Regions from separate parts of the Homo sapiens genome. Here all the other regions are linked to region 1. The links are contacts of gene promoters, found by promoter capture Hi-C in blood cells and fetal thymus (Javierre and others, 2016). All regions are on one chromosome and are shown on one strand. The core of a region is centred on a gene start or on the middle of the fragment in contact, and the rest is flanking DNA. Distances in the headings are between cores, read along the strand shown. Region 1 holds the start of COQ7 (coenzyme Q7, hydroxylase). Region 2 overlaps USP31 (ubiquitin specific peptidase 31). Region 3 overlaps RRN3 (RNA polymerase I transcription factor RRN3).

What was found. Contacts are between HindIII fragments. The CHiCAGO score rates a contact against its expected background, and 5 or more counts as called.
Region 2: a fragment that was not itself captured here is called in contact with the fragment with the promoter of COQ7 in region 1 in 1 of 17 cell types (total CD4 T cells); the score reaches 7.2 in total CD4 T cells.
Region 3: a contact is called between a fragment that was not itself captured here and the fragment with the promoter of COQ7 in region 1, in 1 of 17 cell types (neutrophils). The highest score is 5.3, in neutrophils.

The regions. Positions count from the first base shown.
Region 1 is chr16:19,065,510-19,069,303 of GRCh38, forward strand. COQ7 (coenzyme Q7, hydroxylase) reads left to right here and starts at 2,105. Exons shown (of 6, transcript NM_016138.5): 1 at 2,105-2,228. The coding sequence starts at 2,156. It overlaps COQ7-DT (COQ7 divergent transcript), which reads right to left and starts at 2,182. Exons shown (of 3, transcript NR_119381.1): 1 at 2,072-2,182. RefSeq lists a silencer at 2,129-2,288 and an enhancer at 2,319-2,468. The HindIII fragment of the contact is 11,366 bases long and covers 1-3,794 here.
Region 2 is chr16:23,142,688-23,146,481 of GRCh38, forward strand. The region is part of intron 1 of USP31 (ubiquitin specific peptidase 31); the gene reads right to left. Among named protein-coding and RNA genes, the nearest start is that of USP31, 4.9 kb to the right of the region's middle. The HindIII fragment of the contact is 4,574 bases long and covers 1-3,794 here.
Region 3 is chr16:15,057,606-15,061,399 of GRCh38, forward strand. It overlaps RRN3 (RNA polymerase I transcription factor RRN3), which reads right to left. Exons shown (of 18, transcript NM_018427.5): 18 at 2,428-3,794. It also overlaps a transcript of PDXDC1 not described here. Among named protein-coding and RNA genes, the nearest start is that of NTAN1, 3.4 kb to the left of the region's middle. The HindIII fragment of the contact is 5,530 bases long and covers 1-3,794 here.

The sequences.
Region 1 (3,794 bases), core at 855-3,354:
ATTCTAATTTCTTTTTCACTTAATATGTGTTTTCCTGAAGAATCTAGTGTTTTCTCCTGTTATTAAAAGCTCTTTACAAACATTTCAATGGGCTACATAACATCATACAGTTGGATTTTTTTTTTTTTTTTTGAGCCAGAGTCTAGGTCTATCACCCACTCTGGAGTGCAGTGGTGTGATCATGGCTCAGTGCAGCCTCAACCTCCTGGGCTCAAGTGATCCTTTTAGCCTCACAAGTAGGTGGGATCAGAGGCACACACCACCATGCCTGACTAATTTTTAAAATTTTTTGTAGAGATGGAATCTCACTGTGTTGCCCAGGCTGGTCTTGAACTCCTGGGCTCAAGTGATCCTCTCGCCTCAGTCTCCCAAAGTGTTGGGATTACAGGCGTGAGCCACTGCACTCGGACATGATGTTTTGATATTCAATTGTTGCTTAACATTTTGTTTCCAAATTTTCCCAGTAATAAATAATGGGCACATCTATAAATCTTTGTCAACATTTTTTCTCCTTAGAAACAGAGACCTAGGCCAGGCGTGGCGGCTCACGCCTATAATCCCAGCACTTTGGGAGGACAAGGTGGGAGGATCACTTGAGGTCAGGAATTTGAGACCAGCCTGGCCAACACAGCGAAACCCAGTCTCAGCTGGGCGTGGTGGTGTGTGTACCTGTAATCCCATCTACTTGGGAGGCTGAGGCAGGAGAATCGCTTGAACCCGGGAGGCAGAGGTTCCAGTGAGCCAAGGTCTCCCCACTGCAATCCAGCCTGTGCGACAGAGTGAAACTCCATTTAAAAAGAACAAAAACAAAAAACAAAACAAAAAGGAAACAGAGACCTAGAAGTGGTATTACAGCAAAGGTTTTGAACATTTTAAGGCTTTTGAGCGCCAGATTCAGACACTCAGTAGTTTTACATGAGAGTGCTACAACATCCTCACTAAGTAGTATTTGGGTTCATCATAATTTTAAATTATTTTGGTGTGTCAATTTGAACACTAGAGTGATATAAAAACTAAAAACTTGAATTCAATAATTTTACAATTGTATTCCATCTTAAAATATTTTATGGTAAACTTGGATAAAGTATATAAATAATCCAAGGGTGTAAAGTAGAAAGTGAAAGCTCCCTTCTCCCAGTTCCAGCCCCCTGATGTTGCCAATATTAAACGTTGTATATCCTTGCAGACACGCATCTTTGATTTTTGCCCTCATGTACATTACTCATTTAAAAATTATTTCGTTGAGTAGATTCCTAAAAGTAAGACTGCTGTATTATATGATCTTTTTAAAGTATGTTGCTAAATTTCCCCTCCCTTCTCAAAAAATTCCAATTTGCACAAATATACATGCATACATGCACACAGTACATTAAGGTGGATACCAAGGATAAAACATGTTCTCTGTTTCTGAAAATAGAGAAAAGACCGGGAAGAAGTTTAAAGTTGGCTTTCAGCCCACCAATAGAGATAACACTATATAACACCATTAACCATGTGGTGCATGTAATTTAGATATACATATAATTTTATTTATTTATTTATTTTTCAGACAGGGCCCAGGCTAGAGTGCAGTGGCAGAATCACGGCTGACTGCAGCCTCGAGCTACCGGGCTCAAGCTATCCCCCCACCTCAGCCTCCCGAGTAGCTGGGACTACAGGTGTGCTCCACCAGACCCGGCTAATTTTTAAAATTATTTGTAGAGGCGGGGTCTCGCTATGTTGCCCAGGCTTACTATTTTAAAGTAGATGTAGGATACAAATAAAAAAAAAAATCTCCTTCCACGTAGGTAAAGCAGGAAATACCGTGCCTTGTTAATAAGTAATTCCCTCATGATCCTTTTCCCCAGGAACTTGGGTGAGAAATCATAACCTTGTCCTGATCTTTCTAAACAGCAATTTAGCATTTTCATCTCCCTGGCAACCCAAGGCGCCTTGGCCTTGGTCTTCCGAGTGATTGACAGTGACCCCACCCAATAAAATCTTTTTATTTGTCGTATCTAACCAATCTAACCCCTAGCGCAGAGCTAGGGGGCGTTCCCACCGGTGCGCGGGCGAGCTGAGCCTTCCTTACGTCTGCTGTGCGTCATCAGTCCGAGCCAAGGGCACTATTGGCCAGTTCCGTTCAACGAAGTGGTTGCTTTTTTTAGTTCCGGCAATGAGTTGCGCCGGGGCGGCGGCGGCTCCCCGCCTTTGGCGGCTGCGCCCGGGGGCCCGGCGGTCCCTCTCAGGTAAAAGGAGGCGCGCAGTCACAGTCCTGCGCCGGTCTAGCGAGCTAGGGAATTTTCGCTTGAGGTTTGGGTCGAAGAGGTCACGGGGGAGAGGTTCGTAACGTCACAGGCCTGCGACGGAGCGCGACTGCGTGACTTCGGCCTCCGGGGCGCTGGCGGGCGGGGCGGGGTCTGTAGTTAGCGGCGAGAGTGACAGGAGGACAGGGGTTGTTTCGGCAGTGACGCCTGGGGAGTGACGCAATTGCACCCCTGTGCAGTGATGTCACGGCAGGTGCGGCCAGCGTTCCGAGTCGAGGACAGTTGGCGACACTGAAAATTCAGCGTCTCCGGGAGTCTCTCTCTTTGTAGTCTTTGCCCAGGGCCTTGCCAGGCAAAGGGTAGCCCGACGACCAGCAGCCTCCGCTACTTCTGGGCGCTCGCTAGAAATACAGATTCTCGGGCCCCACCCCGACCTACTTGGTCGGTATCTGTGATCTGTGAACAGGACCTTTAGGTGATTTGCATGCACTGTAAACTGTGAAAGCCATCAGTGTAGTGGAAGGAGCATCGAATTTAGAGTAGAGAGACATGGTTTTGGACCCTGGTTCCTGCTTTCCTTGTTTCATCTGTGCTGCCTTAGAAAATTGTCATGAGCCCGGGCGCGGTGGCTCCGGCCTATAATCTCAGCACTTTGGGAGGCCGAGGCTGGAGGATCCCCTGAGGTCAGGAGTTTGAGACCAGCCTGGCCAACATGGTGAAACCCCGCCTCTACTAAAAATACAAAAATTTGCCAGGCGTGATGGCAGGTGCCTGTAATCCCAGCTACTCAGGAGGCTGAGACAGGAGAATCGCTTGAACCCGGGAGGCAGAGATTGCTTTGAGGCGAGATTGCACCACTGCACTGCAACCTGGGCGTCAGAGCGAGACTTTGTCTCCCCCGCGCAAAAAAAAAAAAAAAAAAGAAATTTCATGAAGTCGTTTTCTCAACGTTAAATTACCGTGTACCACTTTCGGGATTTTTGCCTAATGGCAGTACTGCTTGAACTTTTGATTACTAGATGTGTTTTTTTGTATAGCTATGTCCCATTTAAAAATTAAATTAATTTCCTTGAAACAAAATCCTTATGGTGAATGGGAAGCCAGTGCCACTTGCCACAAATGGGTGAGTAATCATTAAAAAAAAACAAACAAATTAAAAAGTTATGAAATTGTATTAAATACTGTCTTTCTGTTACAAAGGGGAAATTAGCAAGTGTTGGGAAAGTGTTAAGGCTATACCAGCTGTAAATGGAGTTATCTTCCTTAATGAAAGAGATTGCAAGAGATTTTGAAAGAGTACCCCTTACTACATGGGGTTATTTGCTGCATATCCATAAGCCACTTAATATTTTGTAGGTACCACACTGGCATGTTTCACACTTTGGGAAAATATGGACATAAAGTGATGCATTTGAGAGCTAGCACCGAGCCTCAATTTTACTTTAAAGTATATGGTAATGCAGGCAAAACTCCGAGGGTTGTTGAATGTGAATTTTAATGCTGCTCTGTTCAGCCAGTGAGCATAACAGAATAAGACTCATTTCTGTT
Region 2 (3,794 bases), core at 605-3,104, 4.1 Mb after region 1:
CCAAGTCTAAAACTTCATGATTCTATCAACTTTCTCCCTCAGAGGTGTGGAGCTTTGCTAAAACTCAAGTGATGGCATTTGATGGACCAGAGAACTGACCAGGAAGGGATGTACTTTTTATTTTATACTCTGTCACAAAGCTAAATGTGACCTACACAATTTCATTTTTTCCAAGGGACACCCTGAAGTCAGTGTGCTTTGTGGAAAACACTGAAGTATCAGTATACTAAAGAGCTTGACACTAACAAGAAAAAAACTGTGTACCATGGGTTTGCAGCATAGCACCAGAACCCCCAGCATGAGTGCATGGAAAAGCAGGCTGGGAAACTCAGCAAGTGTGAGCCTCTGATTGCCAGGTTGTTCACCACTAGTCTCTTATACAAGTTTATTCCTTTTGTGACTTGAGAATTCTCACTAATAAATAAGCACCACAAGGCACCAAAGTTCAAGGAAAAAAAAATGGGAGAGAGAATTCTATTCATCAATTACCATTTGTTTCACTGCAAATCTGGAAGGAGTCCCCACAATTCTTTTATCAATAGATCACTCTGTGCTAGCTGTTCTTTGCCAGCACAATTTAAAAACTGCTGCCATAAAATTTATCTTTCTTGCTTGAAAGATGACCATCCATCTTTTTACTTGCTGCAAAACGGCTCTGAGCTCTAAAACTCAGAAAGCATTTGTAAGAATCTGGGGCACCCATGCTCCTATGAAAGCAATAAGCTGATTCCCTTTAAAATGGCATATTATGTATTCAAAGTGATTTATTTACTCTCACTATTTTACTAGGAAAGTGATGCAAGGGTCCTGCCAGTGAAGCCCAAGTTTTACCCTAGTGCTGCTGCAAACACATATACACACTCAGAGACAGAGAAGGAGAAAGAGAGAGGGAGAGGTTGGGGGGGGGGAGAGAGAGAGAAAGAGAGAGCGCGAGAGATAACAAGGTAACCATTTTAAAGGCTGGGGAAGTAAAAGGAAACTTGCGCTGAGTCTCCAAACTTTCCTCCAAACAGTTTCTCAGCCTCAGCACTACTGACACTTTGGGGTGAAAACCCTTTAGTAAGGGGGGCTGTCCTGCACATTGTGTGACATTTAGCAGCATCCCTGGAATCTACCACCACATGCCAGTAGCACCCTGATCCCAGCTGTGACAACCAAGTAGGGTTCCAGACATCGACAAATGTCCCAGGGGGTGGGGGCAGGGTGGGGTGAGGACAGGCAAAAGTGCCCGTGTTGAAAACCAGTGCTCTAAGAGTAGGAAACAAACAAACAAAAAATCTGTGTGAAAAGAGAAAGGATAAAGGTAATGGCTAGAGACATTTTTTACAGCATATCAAGGTTGAGCTAGTCAACTCATTTCATCCTGGGAAATGAAAACCCAACTTTAACAACCATCTAGCCCATCCAAAACCAAAAACCATCTACTTGGCAAGCTCCTAAAACTCAAATCAATGTGGTTAAAAAGGAAGAAAGAACTCTAATTGAAAAACTTACAAAGAAAAGCATTAGTAACTTAAAGTTTTAAGATAATAAAAGCACAAAGACATAGTAAGTGCTTTTCTAACCTCAAGGTAACTATCTCAAGATGGCAAATTGGTTTTATCTCCTCTGCCAACTTCAACTAGGTGGTGGTGGCTGCCTGGAGCCCTTCTAGAACTGAGCAGGATTCTAAGGCTGAATGTGAGCGATGTGAAAGTGAAGAATATCTGAATGAAATAACGATGTCCACCCCAAGCAGGCGAAGCACAGTGAGGTATGCCTCAGGTCCACCTTCTGGTGTTTACCTTTCTTTTTTTTTTTTCCTTTTTTTGAGGCAGAGTCTCACTCTGTCACCCAGGCTGGAGCGCAGTGACATGATCTCTGCTCACTGCAACCTCCACCTCCTGGGTTCAAGAGATTCTCGTGCCTCAGCCTCCCGAGTAGCTGGGATTACAGGTGTGTGCCACCACGCTCGGCTACTTTTTGTATTTTTTTAGTAGAGATGGGGTTTCACCATGTTGTCCAGGCTGGTCTGGAACTATTGGTCTCAAGTGATCCACCCACCTTGGCCTCCCAAAGTGCCGGGATTACAGACATGAGCCACTGCGTCCTGCCTTAGCATTCAACTTTCTTTATATTCAAAATAATACCCATCAAATTTAGCTAAAATAAAACCTTTTTTTAAAAAGTAATCAATTTGCCAGAGTTACCTAACCGGGGGAATAAAAAGGGGAAAAGAATCTAATTATATCACTTCCTTGCTTAAAAATCACCTCTGGATTTTCAACTTGCAGAGGATGAAATCCAAACCAGCATAGCTCACGAAGCCCTTCACAGTGAGTTTCCAACACTCTTCTCCCAGGCTTCCTGCACCCCCACTGCTCTCTATGGTGCAGCCAGCCACTAAATGTCTATTCCCCAAAACCACACGCCCTTTCATGCAACTCCACCACTTCCTTGCCCTGCAAATTTCTATTCATCTTTCAGAACACTGCTCAGGAGCCACCTTTTTGGTAATGCTTTCCTTGTTCCTTGATGCCTGCTATACACAGGATGGTCCTTGAGCCAAAAGCACTGGCATCACCAGGGAGCTTGTTAGAAATGCAGAATCTTGGGCACCGCTCCAGCTCTACCGAATCTCAATTTCCTTTGTAGCAAGATCCCCAGGTGAATTATGTGCACACTGACGCATGAGAAGCGCTGTCTCAGGGAACTTCCTAGATCCTACTCGACTCAGCTCTTCATAGCTCCCTGGGAGGTAAACCCCTCCTTTACTCATCTCCTCTGTGAAGACAGGAAAACCCAAATGCCCACCCTCCAGCCTCCGTGACAGCCAATTGACATGGTTATAGCCAATGAAATATCAGCAGAAGCCTGCTGAGGGGGCTTCTGGAAGAATTTTTATTTCCCTAATGACTTCCTGCCGTCCTGGGTAGAATGCCAGGTGCAGTGGCTGCCATCACTGGACAACCATGAGGTGACAAACCTAAGAACAAAAAGCCAATGATAGCTAAAAAGACAACAGGTGGAAATACAGAAATGGTCTGAATCCTTGTTGGGCCCAACGAGCCACTGAACCATAGAACCATCCACCTCCGGAATCACTGTGTGTGCCAATTGCCAATTGCAACGTTTTCATTGCTTAAGGCACTATCATTAGGGATTTTCCTTTCTTGGGCTGAAGGCATTCCTAACTGATTAAGTAAGCCTTCAATAAATGGGAGGTGAATGAATGAATGTAGAGTGAAACCTACTAAAGGTTCAGGAGATTACTTTTAAAAAGCCAGGCCTCTAAGAATCTGTTCATGTCTGCCAAAGCATGCCTATAAATCAGTCTCTGTACTTCTAGAATTATTGACCCATTTCTGTTCACAGCTTAATGGATAAAAAAGTGAACACAAACTCATAAAAAGCAATGGAAATGTTCACATACAAAGATGCTGTAGAAACTGATTTTCACATTTTGGAAAAGAGGAGAAAACCAAACTTAAATACTAGGCTCTGACCTCGAAAAGTTTACAAATGCTGTGGCTACTTACAGGCAATTGTAAGCAAAGAGGGGCAGTGTGGGGTGGGGGGCGGGGGGTGGACCTACAGTAGTCAGTTCTCCTGATCATTCTCCCTTTCTAATTTTGAGATCTCAGCTGGGCACGGTGGCTCACGCCTGTAATCTCAGCACTTGGGGAGGCCGAGGCAGGTGGATCAAAAATTAACTGGGCATGTAGCGGGCGCCTGTAGTCCCAGCTACCTGGGAGGCTGAGACAGGAGAATTGCTTGATTGAACACAGGAGGCAGAGGTTGCAGTGGGCCGAGAT
Region 3 (3,794 bases), core at 335-2,834, 4.0 Mb before region 1:
AGGGTTTGAAACCAGGGTGATCAATGACCAGCAGGCTGGCCTGGAGCAAGTTACTTAACTTCCCTGAACTGGTTTTGTAGAATAGCATGTTTGTTTCACCTGGTACATACTAAACACTAAAGATAGCTATTATTGGAATTGCAGAGCAAAGAGTAGTCAATCAAAGTGAGGCATTTGGAAGTGCAAAGGTGAAGAACAAGGTTCTGTGGGTTCTGCCTGGGGCTGGTGCAGTTTGCCTAACTGGTTTTTCACTTTTGGGTGATCTTTTTTCAAGTAATCTCAGGTTATCAATCTCCTAGGCTGAGTACTGTGTTAAAGGACTAAATGAGCCAGATAACAAGCAGGAAACCACTCCCCTACCTCTCTTCCCACCCAGCTCCACAAATTTTGGTCTACAGGCAATGAGGAAGCAATAGCAGGTGTGTGGCCAGCACTGCGGCTCATGCCTGTAACCCCAGCACTTTGAAAGGCCGAAGGAGGACTCACTTGAGCCCAGAAGTTCGAGACGAGCCTGGACAACACAGGGATCCCTGCTTCTCCAACAAATACAAAAATTAGCTGGGCATGGTGGCAGGCCTGTAGTCCCAGCTACTCGGGAGGATCAATCAAGCCCTAGAGGTCAAGGCTGCAATGAGGCACGACTGTGCCACTGCACTCCTGCCTGGGTGATTACAGCAAGACCGTCTCAAAAAAAAAAGAAAAAGAAAAAGAAAGCACTAATTACAATGTTGGAAAGCCTGTTTCTTTAAGATAGGAAACCAACCTGCCTCACAAGATGGCTGATGGCAAAGTTCAAAGAATATATACAGGGAAATATTTTTTAAATTACACTTTTTTGAGGCCAGACATGGTGGCTCACGCCTGTAATCCCAGCACTTTGGGAGGCCGAGGCGGACAGATTGCTTGAGGTTAGGAGTTCAAGACCAGCCTGGCCAACATAGTGAAACTCCATCTCTACTAAAAATACAAAAATTAGCCAGGCATGGTGGTGCGTACCTGTAGTCCCAGCTACTCAGGAGACTGAGGTGGGCGGATCACTTGAGCCCAGGAGGCGGAGGTTGCAGTTGTTGAGCTGTGATTGCACCACTGCACTCCAGCCTGGGTGACAGAGTGAGACTCTTGTCTCAAAAAAAAGAATGATGAACATTATACAGAACCTTAGTAAATATTTAGTGAAAGGATCCCAATTTGTGTTTCAAATTTTTTAATGTAGAGATGGGGGTCTCACTATGTTGCCCCAGCTGATCTCAAACTCCTGGCTTCAAGAGATCCTTTTGCTGGCCTCCCCAAGTGCTCAGATTACAGGCATGAGCTACCACACCTGGCCCCAAATTATTAGATACATTATAAATCCTACTCAACCATCCAGAGTCAGACTGAAACACACAAAAGCATTTGATGGAAGAAAACATGGTGGAGCTTTGGATGTTCAATTAGTTGAAACAAGAAAAGTATGCAGTTGTACACCAATGAACAGTTCTCAAGGCAGCCTGCACCTTCGAATCACCAGGGGGCTTTAAAAACCATCCATGTCCAGACCCCTCTTCTGGAGACTGATTCAATCAAAGGTTGAGTTGGTGTGTGACGTGAGCCTGGGCATCCTTAGTTTCTCAGCACTCCAAGGGACTGATTCTAGGGCACAGCCAGGGTTAAGAACCACCATCGTAAGCACTGCCCGGCAAGGGAAACACGCTGGTTCCTCCTCTCCAGTTCAGATCTAAGTTGGTACCAGGGAGGTAGGTATTATGGAAGAAATAGAAGTTATCTTTAACCAAAAAAAACTTCCCATGGAAGTGCTTCCTTTCTTGCAAGAAAACAACAGCCATTAACTTGTACATGCATCGAATCCTTAAAGCCTTACACTAGTATCTTATTCCCATTTTACAGTTTAATTAGCGCTCAGAGAGGTTAGGTAACTTGCTCAACGTCAAACAGCTAGCTAGGAAAGGAAGCCCATGGCACTTGGTAAGTTGACTTGTAAAAATTCAGCCACTTCTCATCAAGGAAGACCAAACCAGAGCACACAGACAAAAGGACAGACCCTGGAGACTCCTACAACTGACAGCTTTTTAGTGAAAGGAAAAATTCCCATTGTTGGCATGTAATTTATAAGGAGATTTCACAGTATTTTTCCCCATAGATGTCCCTTCAAAGCATGTAACTTTTTGAAAGAAGTGTCTGCTTCCCTTGGACCTGCTCAAGCCTCAATCACTCTTTGCTGGGTGTGATTAAGGAGAGTCGCGGATACTTCATATAGTGCACACGGAAACCATCCTCACCCCGGCATGCAATGAATTCCATCAAGCTCCCCGCCACACCAGCACTATTTCTCCCTCTTCAACAGCAATGCCTCAGGAGTTTTCCACTGCAAAATGCTTTAATACATTAAATTAAAAAAAAAAAAACAAAACAGAAATTGAAAGAACATGTATTGAGGTACCTTTTATTGGTATAAGAACGTAAGTTCCAGATTAACCATGTCATTGTTTCATTTTCACCATGGATTTTTTTTCACAAACTCCTTTGAAATTAAACAGACTTATATGTAAATGTCTTTCTACATTAAAACTACTTCCCAACCCACAAAGACCCCACTTACTACTAATTTCTGGGGAATTTCGTTTACTCGTTTTATCTAATATTAAAAAATCAACATTTTGCCAGCAGTTAAAAAGACAACCTTAAAGTTCTCAAATTACTTTCCACCAAACCCGGAAAAGAAAACCACCCATATCCAAAACTTTAAAGCAATAAAAATTTCTATTTTCCAAAAAAGTATTTACAGACTGAAATTCAAACTCTACATTGCCATCAATGTAATTATACAAGTGCATACAAAGCCCTGGAAAAGAGGAAGTATTTCATTACAAAATATTTATGATCAAGAAAATATTGCTTGCCTTTAAATAAAGTGGCAGAAAATAAATATGCTTAAAGATGGCCATTTTCACAAGTAAACAAAAAAGTACACATGTAAGAAACAAAGTGAAAATGCTTGAGCTTCAAAATGACTCTAGCAGTGTTTGCACAAATTTGTTTTAAAGCGAGGTCTTCTGAAGACTTCCTCTGTTTAGTTATAAAAATACAAAAAGAGGCTTTAGAGAAGGATTTCACCAAGCCGAATGTGCGATGCACACAGCCATCAGACCAAGACTGCACTAGCAACTTCCACCTATTGTTGTGAGCAAAACCGTACACCAAATAATCTAAAAAAATTTTCCTGTTTCCAACAAAGAAATTCCCAATAACTAAGTGATGCAGATCAAAACTGACTCGATCTAATGGCCACCAAGGAGCAGTTCTAGATCTAAGGGGACACTTGAGAGCCAAGGGGTCAAATCCAATCTCATGTGTTTTACACAAGCCCGAACTCACTTTCAGTCTGTGTGAATTACATCTACCTGGACCTCCATTTTTGTCTTTTAAATCCATTTTTTCGCTGTGCCAAGTATATTACACATCTGATTCTGTTTCCCTATATCCTCTCTCTCTTCCCTATGGGCTTTTATTGGTCTCTGAAGTCCCTGGAGATCTTCAGTGCCAGCTCCAACTCTGTGTCCCAGACCATGTCGGGCCAGCTCTCAGCTTTCCTTCTGTCTTCTCTACACTCCCTTGAAATCCCAACAGACAAATACCAATACAGCAGAAGGTGAACAATGTAGCCAAAATAAACACTTTCTAGTTAAAGTCTTTAAATAGAAGTTTTATCTTAGAGGATTCTTCACTGAAAGCTCATCAGTCAAGTCCTAAGACCATGGATCTGACAAAAACCCATGTTAAAACAGCAACCCGTA